Regions from separate parts of the Homo sapiens genome. Here regions 1, 3 and 4 are each linked to region 2. The links are contacts of gene promoters, found by promoter capture Hi-C in blood cells and fetal thymus (Javierre and others, 2016). All regions are on one chromosome and are shown on one strand. The core of a region is centred on a gene start or on the middle of the fragment in contact, and the rest is flanking DNA. Distances in the headings are between cores, read along the strand shown. Region 1 holds the start of SMIM22 (small integral membrane protein 22). Region 2 holds the start of C16orf89 (chromosome 16 open reading frame 89). Region 3 overlaps MGRN1 (mahogunin ring finger 1). Region 4 overlaps ANKS3 (ankyrin repeat and sterile alpha motif domain containing 3).

The links. The method cuts DNA at HindIII sites, captures the fragments that hold promoters and counts their contacts. A CHiCAGO score of 5 or more calls a contact.
Region 1: a contact is called between the fragment with the promoter of SMIM22 here and the fragment with the promoter of C16orf89 in region 2, in 1 of 17 cell types (M2 macrophages). The highest score is 7.8, in M2 macrophages.
Region 3: a fragment that was not itself captured here is called in contact with the fragment with the promoter of C16orf89 in region 2 in 1 of 17 cell types (erythroblasts); the score reaches 5.3 in erythroblasts.
Region 4: a fragment that was not itself captured here is called in contact with the fragment with the promoter of C16orf89 in region 2 in 1 of 17 cell types (M2 macrophages); the score reaches 5.3 in M2 macrophages.

Annotation. Positions count from the first base shown.
Region 1 is chr16:4,793,919-4,796,618 of GRCh38, forward strand. SMIM22 (small integral membrane protein 22) reads left to right here and starts at 1,451. Exons shown (of 4, transcript NM_001253794.2): 1 at 1,451-1,531; 2 at 1,797-1,940; 3 at 2,030-2,130; 4 at 2,272-2,573. The coding sequence starts at 1,817. The coding sequence ends at 2,313. The HindIII fragment of the contact is 14,181 bases long and covers 1-2,700 here.
Region 2 is chr16:5,064,674-5,067,373 of GRCh38, forward strand. It overlaps C16orf89 (chromosome 16 open reading frame 89), which reads right to left and starts at 1,283. Exons shown (of 8, transcript NM_001098514.3): 1 at 1,028-1,283. The coding sequence starts at 1,235. The HindIII fragment of the contact is 15,659 bases long and covers 1-2,700 here.
Region 3 is chr16:4,653,296-4,655,995 of GRCh38, forward strand. The region is part of intron 4 of MGRN1 (mahogunin ring finger 1); the gene reads left to right. Among named protein-coding and RNA genes, the nearest start is that of MIR6769A, 17 kb to the right of the region's middle. RefSeq lists enhancers at 851-1,352, 1,353-1,852. The HindIII fragment of the contact is 6,090 bases long and covers 1-2,700 here.
Region 4 is chr16:4,724,011-4,726,710 of GRCh38, forward strand. ANKS3 (ankyrin repeat and sterile alpha motif domain containing 3) reads right to left here. Exons shown (of 18, transcript NM_133450.4): 5 at 2,649-2,700; 6 at 740-821. Among named protein-coding and RNA genes, the nearest start is that of ANKS3, 8.9 kb to the right of the region's middle. The HindIII fragment of the contact is 332 bases long and covers 1,270-1,601 here.

The sequences.
Region 1 (2,700 bases), core at 201-2,700, 270 kb before region 2:
GGAGTATGCCACCGCACCCAGCCAATTTATTTTTTTTGAGATAGTCTTGCTCTGTCACCCAGGCGGGTGTGCGGTGACATGATCTTGGCTCACTACAGGCTCCGCCTCCTGGGTTCAAGCGATTCTCCTGCCTCAGCCTCCCAAGTAGCTGGGATTACAGGTGCCCGCCACCACAGCGGGGTAATTTTTGTATTATTATTATTTTTTGAGATGGAGTCTTGCTCTGTCACCCAGGCTGGAGTGCAGTGGCGAGATCTCGGCTCACTGCAATCTCTGCCTCCAGGGTTCAAGCAATTCTCCTGCCTCAGCCTCCTGAGTAGTTGGGACTATAGGCGCGTGCCACCATGGCCGGCTAATTTTTTGTATTTTTAGTAGAGATGGGGTTTTACCGTGTTACCCAGGATGGTCTTGATCTCCTGACCTTGTGATCCGCCTGCCTCGGCCTCCCAAAGTGCTGGGATTACAGGCATGAGCCACCACACCCGACCAATTTTTGTATTTTTATCTTTTTTTTTTTTTGAGATGGAGTTTTGCTCTTGTTGCCCAGGCTGGAGTGCAATGGCGTGATCTCGGCTCACCACAACCTCTGCCTCCCGGGTTCAAGTGATTCTCCTGCCTCAGCCTCCCTAGTAGCTGGGATTACAGGAATGTGCCACCACGCCTGGCTAATTTTGTATTTTTAGTAGAGACATGGTTTCTCCACGTTGGTCAGTCAGGCTGGTCTCAAACTTCTGGCCTCAGCTGACCCGCCTCTGCCTCCCAAAGTGCTGGGATTACAGGCGTGAGCCACTGCGCCCGGCCCAATTTTTGTATTTTTAGTAGAGGTGGGGTTTCGCCATGTTGGCCAGGACGGTCTCAAGCTCCTGATCTAAGTAAGTGATCTGCCCAACTTGGCCTTCCAAAGTGGTGGGATTACAGGTGTGAGCCACCAGGCCAGGCCAAATATATTAAGTATTATAAGTAATCCAGAGATGATTTAAAGTATAGAGTATATGCACAGGTTATATGCAAATACTGCCTCATTTTATATCAGGGAGTTTATAGCATCTGTGGATTTTGGTACCCACGGAGGTGCTGGAACCAATCGTTGAGGATTCCAAGGACAACTCTATGATGCAGGCACACCTGTCCTAGCTGCTCAAGGGTCGTGGGATGCAGGTAGGTTTTCTCCCCCTTCCCCCTCCCTCCCACCCACCTTCTCTCCCATCTCTCTCTCTTTCATTCACGAAGTCAGCAGTGGCCAAGCACACAGGTGTTCCCAGCTGCATATCTGGGATACTGAGGAAAGGTAAGAAGTCTCAGGAGTGAAGAAGCCACAGGCCGGCGTCTTCCTCCCTGGGCCTCCAGCAGTGGGGAGCCAGGGAGCGCACCTGCTGGGCCTGGGCCCTCTCCCCTGGGCTGGGCGGCCTCTGCTGGCCCTGGGGAGGGCGGGGCTGGTTGCCAAGGCCTCAGGTGGTGTGGAGCCGGAAGCAGGAAGCAGCCTGTGCTCCCCAGGACCTGCCTGGTTGGGGGAATTGGAGGCTTCTAGGAGGTAGGTGGGGGCCTGGGGGCTGGGCTGCCAGGGGGAGAGAGAGGGGAGATGACAGTGGCTGGGGAGAAGGTTGTCAGGGTAAGGACCACAGGGCTGGGCAAGGAGAGAAGCTGGGCCTGGGGCCGAGGGAGAAGTGGAGTGGGAGGGGGTGGGGAAGCTGGCGCTGGGCCAGGAGCGGGCAGTGGCTGGGCTGTGGGAAGCCTGGATGTGGTCCCCGCTGAGCTGAGCCCAGGATCCTGATGCAGCCTCTGGGGGACCGGGGCAGGTGGCACGGTGCACGCCAAGATGGCTGTGTCCACAGAGGAGCTGGAGGCCACGGTTCAGGAAGTCCTGGGGAGACTGAAGAGCCACCAGTTTTTCCAGTCCACATGGGACACTGTTGCCTTCATTGTTTTCCTCACCTTCATGGGTAAGTGTGGCTGTGGCCTCTGGGTCCTCCCAGCCCCCTGCCCTGGGCTCCAGGTTGGGGCCACACCTGGACGCCTGTCCTGTCCCCAGGCACCGTGCTGCTCCTGCTGCTGCTGGTCGTCGCCCACTGCTGCTGCTGCAGCTCCCCCGGGCCCCGCAGGGAAAGCCCCAGGAAGGTGAGCCCCTGGAAGGTGAGCCCTGCCGGCCTCTGGGACCTGCACGGAACTGTACTGGGGGTGGAGGCGGAAGGTGAGGGGAGTGGCGGGAAGGGTGCTCATCCCCCTAGGGAACAACGAGCGAACCTGCTTGGTCCCGCTGTGCTTCTCGTGCAGGAAAGACCCAAGGGAGTGGATAACTTGGCCCTGGAACCCTGACCCTGTGTCTCCTGCCCGGTGGCAGTAACAAAGCCTTCTGTCTGCCCAGAGCCTGAGTCTGCAGTGTCTTCCAGTCCCCGTCTGGGTGGGTGACGCGGGACTCGCCGCCCCACTCAGGTGGCCACCTGGCCTCTCCAAGCCTTCAGTCAGCACGACTGTGCCAGGTCATCCTCAGTCACCTAGCTGGGAGGGGAGCTGGTCTCAGGCCGGGCGCGGTGGCTCACACCTATAATCCCAGCACTTTGGGAGGCCGAGGTGGGCGGATCACGAGGTCAGGAGATCGAGAACATCCTGGTTAACGTGGTGAATCCCCGTCTCTACTAAAAATACAAAAAATTAGCCGGGCGTGGTGGCGGGCACCTGTAGTCCCAGCTACTCGGGAGGCTG
Region 2 (2,700 bases), core at 33-2,532:
TGAATTCCTAGGGAATCTGTTATGGAGCAAGATTATTGAGAGGAGAAGGGGCAGTGGATGTGGGATGTGGCGTGGGTGGAGAAGCCGGGCTCACTGCAGCTGCCAAGGAGTGGGGACCCTGGTCTGAGGCTGTTAGGTGGGGCCGCTTTCCCAGTGAATGCTGCCCAGTCATGATTAAGAGAACCCCCTCCCTTCTTTGCTAAAAGAGGATAATAATAATGGGTGTAACCTCAGGGATGACGGGGAGAGGGCACTGAAGTACCCCATGCAATGCACCTGGGTTGTGCCCACATTGAGCAGATACTTAGTGAACTACAGCTTTTGCTATCACATGCGCCCCAGGAAGCACCCAGCCCTGTGGGAGCCACCTGTGTGCTTGTGTGTGTGTGTGATATGCTTGTGTGCATGCGTGCATGCGTGCTTGTGTGTGTGATGTGCATGTGTGTGTGCGTGCGTGCATGTGTGCTTGTGTGTGTGTGCATGATGTGCGCATGTGTGTGTTTACCTTGGCCTGTCTCCAGCCCCCTTCTTGGGGATCTTATAGCTCTCAAAGCTAAACAAACACTTGACTGTTTTTGCAGAACCTTCAGGAGACTTTGGCTGCAAGTGGAGGAAGTGGGGTGGGAACCCGATCTTGAGGGTCCTCAGTTTTGTCCACAGCCACCTCATTCAAGGGGAGGGGTCTTCCCACAAATATCTGTTAACGGGGCACTCTCCCTGCTCCCCTTGTTCGTGGCGTTGTGAGGAGGGGCTGTCAAATGGATCATTTCATTCTGAGAAAAAGATAATTCCCAAATCCCTTCCCATGTTGCCTTTAAATCTTTCCTACTTCTAAAAAATTGCGTAACAGTTAGCTGGGCCACAGCCGCCAGGAAGATCCAGCCCCTGGCCTCCTCTCTCCTTATAGCCGAGGCAGGCTATACTGGGGCCAGGAGTCTGCCAGGTCCCAGGCGTACAGAGCAGGGCAGGGGACAAAGCTGAGAGCTAGCTTCCCAGTGTCCAGCCAGAGGAATTGGGGCTCACTCACCTTCCAGCACTCGGACCCCCACCATGCCATCCAGGTTGATTTCAGGCAGCCTCTGTTCTAGGAAGACGGTGGCTCTCTCCAGCGCAGACAGGATCAGGTCTGCAATGGTGGCTTTACTTTCAGCAGTGTCCAGCCCAGGCAGTGAGGAGGACCACAGCGGTGGCAGTGCTGTCAGTAAGAGCAGGAGCAGCAGCCCCAGGCTGGCCATGGCCGGCCTCTGCTCACTGCTGGTCACACGCTCAGCACCCTGAGCTCTGGCCAAGCCCAGACTGCCTCTGCACGCCCTCCTCCCACCTCCTTCCCACCTCCCCCTGGCAGACATGAAGACAAGTGGCCCGGCAGGGCTGCCAAGAAGCCTGGGGTGGCCTGGGCAAAGGACTCTGGGAAGGGTGGCTGCAGGGGGATGACGGTTAGGCAGCGGAGGTTAGGCCAGTCCTGGGCGTAGAGCCTGCTGTCCACGGGATGCTGGGGAGAGGGCTGCCCGCCCTGTCCTTCTCAGCCCTGATTCTCCAGGCTCACAGGCTAGATCTTTGATCTAGCAATTGCAATTCAACCCAGAAATCCAAAAGCTCTGAAAGCAAAACGAATTTTTTTTTCTTTGTTTTTTGAAATAGGGTCTCATTCTCTTGCCTAGGCTGGAGTGCAGTGGTTTGATCACAGCTCACTGTAGCCTTGACCTCCTGGGCTCAATAGATCCTCTTGCCTCAGCCTCCTGAATAGCTGGGACAATCGGCATGTGCCACCATGTTGCCTAATTTTTGTAGCTTTTTTTAATAGAGACAGGGTCTCACTATGTTGATCAGGCTGGTCTTGAACCGCTGGCCTCAAGCGAGCCACCTTCTTTGGGCTCCCAAAGTGCTGGGATTACAGGCTGGAGCCACCACACCCAGGCTTTGTTTTAAATAAATTTGAAACAAACTCATTTGAGGGCACGTCTGCCTTGAACTGAGGCAAACTTCCTTAAAGGGGCACCGTCCAATTGAAATAGAATTGGAGCTACAAAGATGAGCCATGTGTGCATTTCGAAATTTCCTAGTAGCCACATCTAAGAAAGCAGCAATAAGCAGGTGAAGTTAATTTTAACGATCTAGTTTATTTGACCCAGTTATTTAAAATATTATAATTACATCTGTAATCAATATAGAAATGATTTGTTTTTATTTTTGTCATACTAAGTCTTTGAAATTGATGAGTAGTTTATGTTCACAACACAATTGTTTTATTTTGTTATTTTATTTTTAAGAGACAGGGTCTCATTCTGTTGCCCAGGCTGGAGTGCAGTGATGTGGTCATAGTTCACTGCAGTCTCGAGCTCCTAGGCTCAAGGGACCCTCGCGCTTTAGCCTCCCAAGGAGCTGGCACTCCAGATGTAAGCCACCATGCCAGGCTAAGCACATTTCAATTCAGACTATCCATATTTCAGGGGCTTGATAGTCACATGTAGCTGGTATACTGGGCAGTGTCTTAGTTTTGTGCTACTACAACAGAATACCTGAGACTGAGTAATTTATAAAGAAAAGAAATTCATTTGGCTCATAGTTCTGGAGGCTGGGAAGTCCAGGTTCAAGGGGTTGCATCTGGTGGGGGTCTTCTTGCTATATCATCCCACGGTGGAGGGCAGAAGGGCACGAGAGCTGGAGAGAGAGAAGAGAAAGAAGCTAAACTCATTCCTT
Region 3 (2,700 bases), core at 104-2,603, 410 kb before region 2:
GGGGGAAGGGGTGGGGCGCACCACCTTCCTCGTATTCAGCAAACCAGAAGCTCTCCTGAAAACCCCATTTCAGGGCCTTTTCTGGAGGCTTCATCACGTAGGCAGGATTGATGATTAACTCCATCTCCAGCCCCTGTCCCCTCCCTGGAGGATGGGGCTGGGCTGAAATTCAGTTCCAGGTTTTTGTTTTGTTTTTGTTTTGTTTTGTTTTGAGACGAAGCCTCACTCTGCTGCCCAGGCTGGCGTGCAGTGGCACAATCTTGGCTCACTGCAACCTCCGCCTCCCGAGTTGAAGCAATTCTCCTGCCTCAGCCTCCTGAGTAGCTGGGACTACAGGCACGTGCCACCACGCTTGGCTAATTTTTGTATTTTTAGTAGAGATGGGGGTTTCGCCATGTTGGCCAGGATGGTCTCAATCTCTTGACCTCATGATCTGTCCATCTCAGCCTCCCAAAGTGGTTTTTGTTTGTTTTTGAGACAGAGTTTCGCTCTTGTTGCCCAGGCTGGAGTGCAATGGTGTGATCTTGGCTCACTGCAACCTCCGCCTCCTAGGTTCAAGTGCTTCTCCTGCCTCAGCCTCCCGAGTAGCTGGGATTACAGGCATATGCTACCATGCCTGGCTAATTTTGTATTTTTAGTAGAGACGGGGTTTCATCATGTTGGTCAGGCTGGTCTCAATCGCTCGACCTCAGGTGATCCACCTGCCTCGGCCTCCCAAAGTGCTGAGATTACAGCCGTGAGCCCCCATGCCCGGCCCACCTGGCCCAGGTTTTTGTTTGTTTTTCCTCGGGAGCTCTTAGACGACACTTCCAAGTCTCTAATCATGGCTTGGTCTTTCTGGCAGCCAGCCACCTCCAGGAGCCAAGAGTCACCTCACTGGCACATAAGACACTCCTACCACCCGGGAAATTCCAAGGGTTTGGAGTTCTGTGTTGGGAGCAAAGGTCAAGGAACAAATATTAGAACAAAAGAGGCTCCTAGCACCCCTGTTGCTGAGGAAATGACAAGGGTTTTAGAGGACTCTGTGTCAGGAACTGGGGCTGGGACCAAATATTTATTTTTTATTGTGTCATAATTAGATATTTGTACTTTCAGAGGTTTTATTTGAGATAAGGGTCCTTCTGGCCCTGAAAGTTTGAAAACTGCAACTTCAGCAGGAGCTGGCAGGACTGCCTCCAGGCTACAAGGGCACATGTGCCCCAAGTGGCTTTAGAGACAGGCAAGAGCGTGCCCCCTGCCTTCCTGCACTGGAGCACACCGCTCAGTGGTCAGCTTTGCATCTGGGGATAGGGTGTGGTTGAGAGCCTAGGCTTTGAATGCTGTCCCCGCTGAGTGGCTTGGGGGCACATGACTGCTTGTGCCTCTGTGTCCTCAGCTGGAAGTTCGGGTGGGTGGTGTGAGGAGGGGACCATGTGTCCTGTGCACAGCCCCTCGCGTGACAGGTGCTCTTGAAAGGAGCCTGAGTGCTCGAGTTGAGGGGCTGGTGGAGACGACTTATGTGGGGAGGTTCTTAGGGACCTGCCACCAGGTGAGGCCGCCCTTGGGCTCTGGCCTTGGGCTCCCCGGCAGCCAGGGCTCCTCCTGTGGAGCAGCACTTTGGGGAGGAACAGGTTCCTTTTTCTAGACTTTGTTCTTTGAGGCTCTACCTTGCCCCGGCACTTGATTATATTTCTTTAATGACACTAGTAATGCATGCCTGTGTGCTATGACAGGCGTCGAATTCTTGGGCGTAGGAGCATTTGGAGTGACCAGGGCAGGCCCCTCTGTCCCCTCCTTGCACCCCACTGCTTGGGGTTGAGTGTTTGACACCCACGGGGCCTGGTGCCCTCCTCGGGCCTGGCCGACATGGTGGAGGAGCTGGGTTGTGGCGAGGTGTCCAGGGGCTGCCACAGAGAGGGTGTGGGCTGAGGACACAGGCCAGTGTAAGTTGTCTATCCGCTGCCCCCCAGTGCTCCAGCTGTCAGGGGCTGGGTGACCATCTCAAGTGCACTTGAAGAGAGGGTCCCGCTGCTACCAGAAAGGCTAGAGAGAGCAGAGAGGGTGCCCTGCCAGCCCTGGCTGGTGTCACCCTCTCCTAGACCCCTGCGGGCTAGTGATGAGAGAAATGCCACAGTCCCCCCCTCTCAGGACCTGGCACAAGGCCAGCTTCCCCTCCCAGCAGGAATCACAGAGCAGGAACAGCTCCAGTGCCACTGTCCCCCTCTGTCAGGACCTGGTACGAGGCCTGCTTCCCCTCCCAGCGGGGATCACAGAGCAGGAACAGCTCCAGTGCCACTGTCCCCCTCTCTCAGGACCTGGTACGAGGCCTGCTTCCCCTCCCAGCAGGCATCACAGAGCAGGAACAGCTCCAGTGCCACTGTCCCCCTCTCTCAGGACGCGGTGCAAGGCCAGCTTCCCCTCCCAGCAGGGATCACAGAAAAGGACCTGGAGGCTCCAGGACCTGGAGGCTGTGCCCAGGCACCCGGACACCATCCAGCCTGCCAGTGCTCCATCCATTTGAGCTGCAGGGCAAGCCACCCTCCCTGCCTCCTGACAAGGAAACTGAGGCTCAGACAGAGGGGTGTGTCCAGGCCTCCGCATCTCACAGGAGAAGGCTGGGGTCCACCTGAGGGTGGCGTCTTAACTGTGCCTTTTACTGAGGCTGAGCCCGGGCCTCCCCTGTAGTGCCTCCAACCATGCTGGGCTCTGGCGGCCATGGCA
Region 4 (2,700 bases), core at 186-2,685, 340 kb before region 2:
GATCTCGCCACTGAACTCCAGCCTGGGATACAGGGCAACACCATGTCTCAAAAAAATAAATTAATAAAATAAAACAGAAATACAACATACAGAAATAACTGCAAATGTATTAAAGCTATGTGTAAAAGGATATTCCCGGAACACTGTTTATAATTGCAAAATGTTAAAAACTAAGTTTCTACTAATAAGAAACTCATTAAATTAACTGAGGCAGATTGTACACGGAATACTGTACAAAGATAAGATGTCTATAAGATGTCTCTAAGTTACAGACTATACGTAGAATCCCACTTTGTTCAAAACACAAAGCAATGTGCACACACTTGCCTACAGACACATCTTTCCACAGCAGAGGAAAAGTCCTAGGGCAGCTCTTTCTCAAACCAAGTGGGCATCAGGGAGGTTGAAAAAGAGAGGAGGATCTCTGCCTTCTTATTCTATATAATTTTTCTAAGTGACAGGATTATGAGTGCTATTTACTTTTAAAATATTTTTCCATAATTTTCAGATAGTATTTTCAAAATTATTACAGGAATAGGTGTCTATTTCTACTCACCACTGTATCCTTAATGCCTAAGCACCACTCAACACCGGGCGTCAATAGATAATGAAAATGTGTTGAATAAATGAATGAAAGTTATTTCTGTGCAAAGGAAAATTCTGTAATAGCTTATACTTCAGTAATATGATTCCTCATTTGCCGTGACTACATTACATGCTAATAATCAGGGTCACTTACGTGATTCAGAAAATACTGCACGATTATCTCATGGCCAGCAGCAGCTGCTTCCATCAAGGGAGTAAATCCACATATCGGCTCCCTGCAAGATGTGGGCCACAGTCAGATGATTGGAAGAGACAAGTTCCGCCAGGCAAAAACTCCCTGCTGAAGATAAACCCTGAGCAGTGCACGAGTCACCGATCCCTAAGCGTAGAACACTGTCCCTTTCCAGAATTAACAGGTGACATGAGAACAGTGAATATAACACATCAGCTCCATTTACTCTTCTGGTGTCTGTCCCCAGGGCTGGTCTTTGTCCTAAAGACAGATGTCTGCCTGTCGTCCCACCTGTTGGCTATTCCCACTGGCTACCTCTGAAATCTCCACCTCAATCATATTCAAAAAGCTGTTCTAATTCCTCACAGAAAGCCAGCATCTCCCATCCATTCATCCAAATCCTGGCTTCAAGTTCAACGTCCTCCATGAACCCACTCTGAAAAGTTCAAGTACTAATGATCTAAGCTATCTTTGCCACGCTTAGCTCCTGAAGCTTGCTTTTCATGCTTGGTTATGCTAACTCGGCACTGTCTTCAGAGGGCTTCCAAATCCCTCCTTGTCTCATGCTGGTTTGGAAGTCAGGAACCATGCATGGGAAATGCTGGTTTTCATCCATCTTAAGACACACAGTGTTCATATTTTAACATCTCTCAAGTCAGAAAACATCTTTAAATCAACAGGCGAGTTGAATGTTAATTAGTAGCATATTTTTTCTTTCTTAGTGGCATACAAAATTATCAGGTGTCTTAGAATGAATGACAGCCAGGGTGGGTGCTGCATTGGTACCCGCTGCGTTTGTTCAAAGGTGATTATTATCATGACAAGCTTTAGACAACAATCCCACTTCCAACTTATAAAACTCATGACTGGTTTTTTGTTTGTTTTTGAGACAGAGTTTTGCTCTTGTTGCTCAGGCTGGAGTGCAGTGGCACGATCTCTCAGTTCACTGCAACCTCTGCCTTCTGGTTTCAAGTGATTCTCCCGCCTCAGACTCCCGAGTAGCTGGGATTACAGGCACCTGCCACCACGCCCAGCTAATTTTTGTATTTTTAGTAGAGACGGGGTTTCACCATGTTGGCCAGACTGGTCTCGAACTCCTGACCTCATGATCTGCCCGCCTTGGCCTCCCAGAGTGCTAGGATTACAGGTGTGAGCCACTGAGCCCGGCCAAAACTCATGACTGTTGTTTTTGTTTTTTTTTTTTTGAGATGGAGTCTTGCTCTGTCACCCAGGCTGGAGTGCAGTGGTGCAATCTCGGCTCACTGCAAGCTCCACCTCCCGGGTTCACACCATTCTCTTGCCTCAGCCTCCCGAGTAGCTGGGACTACAGGCGCCCGTCACCATGCCCAGCTAATTTTTTCGTATTTTTAGTAGAGATGGGGTTTCACCATGTTAGCCAGGATGGTCTCGATCTCCTGACCTCGTGATCTGCCTACCTCGGCCTCCCAAAGAGCTGGGATCACAGGCGTGAGCCACCACGCCCGGCCTCATGACTGTTTCAAAGCATCACCTCACCTCATCCATACAAAAAGCAAGAAAATGGAAGGAATTTGCATGTAATGTATGACATTTAAATGCCATTCAGTATGTTAGGCCCCTGGCATACAATAAAACATGTAATTCTTACAACTGTATGACCCAGGTGGGTTTCAGATAAAGAAAAGGAAGCTGAGAGGGCTTGAAGAGATGCATCTCACAGATGTACGAAAAGGCCTGTGCCTGGAAGGACTCTGGTCCTACCCCTCATCTTGAGCCTCTCGTGCCGAAGCAGGGTGGCCCTAAACTCTGGTTAGCTGCCTCCAGAGCCACCCTCCTTAGAGTCAGATGACACCTAGGCCACTCCTGTGGCCACTAAAGATGTGGCAATCACCTCACGTTGGCATTGGCTCCACTGTCCAAGAGGAACCTGACCATGTGCTGGT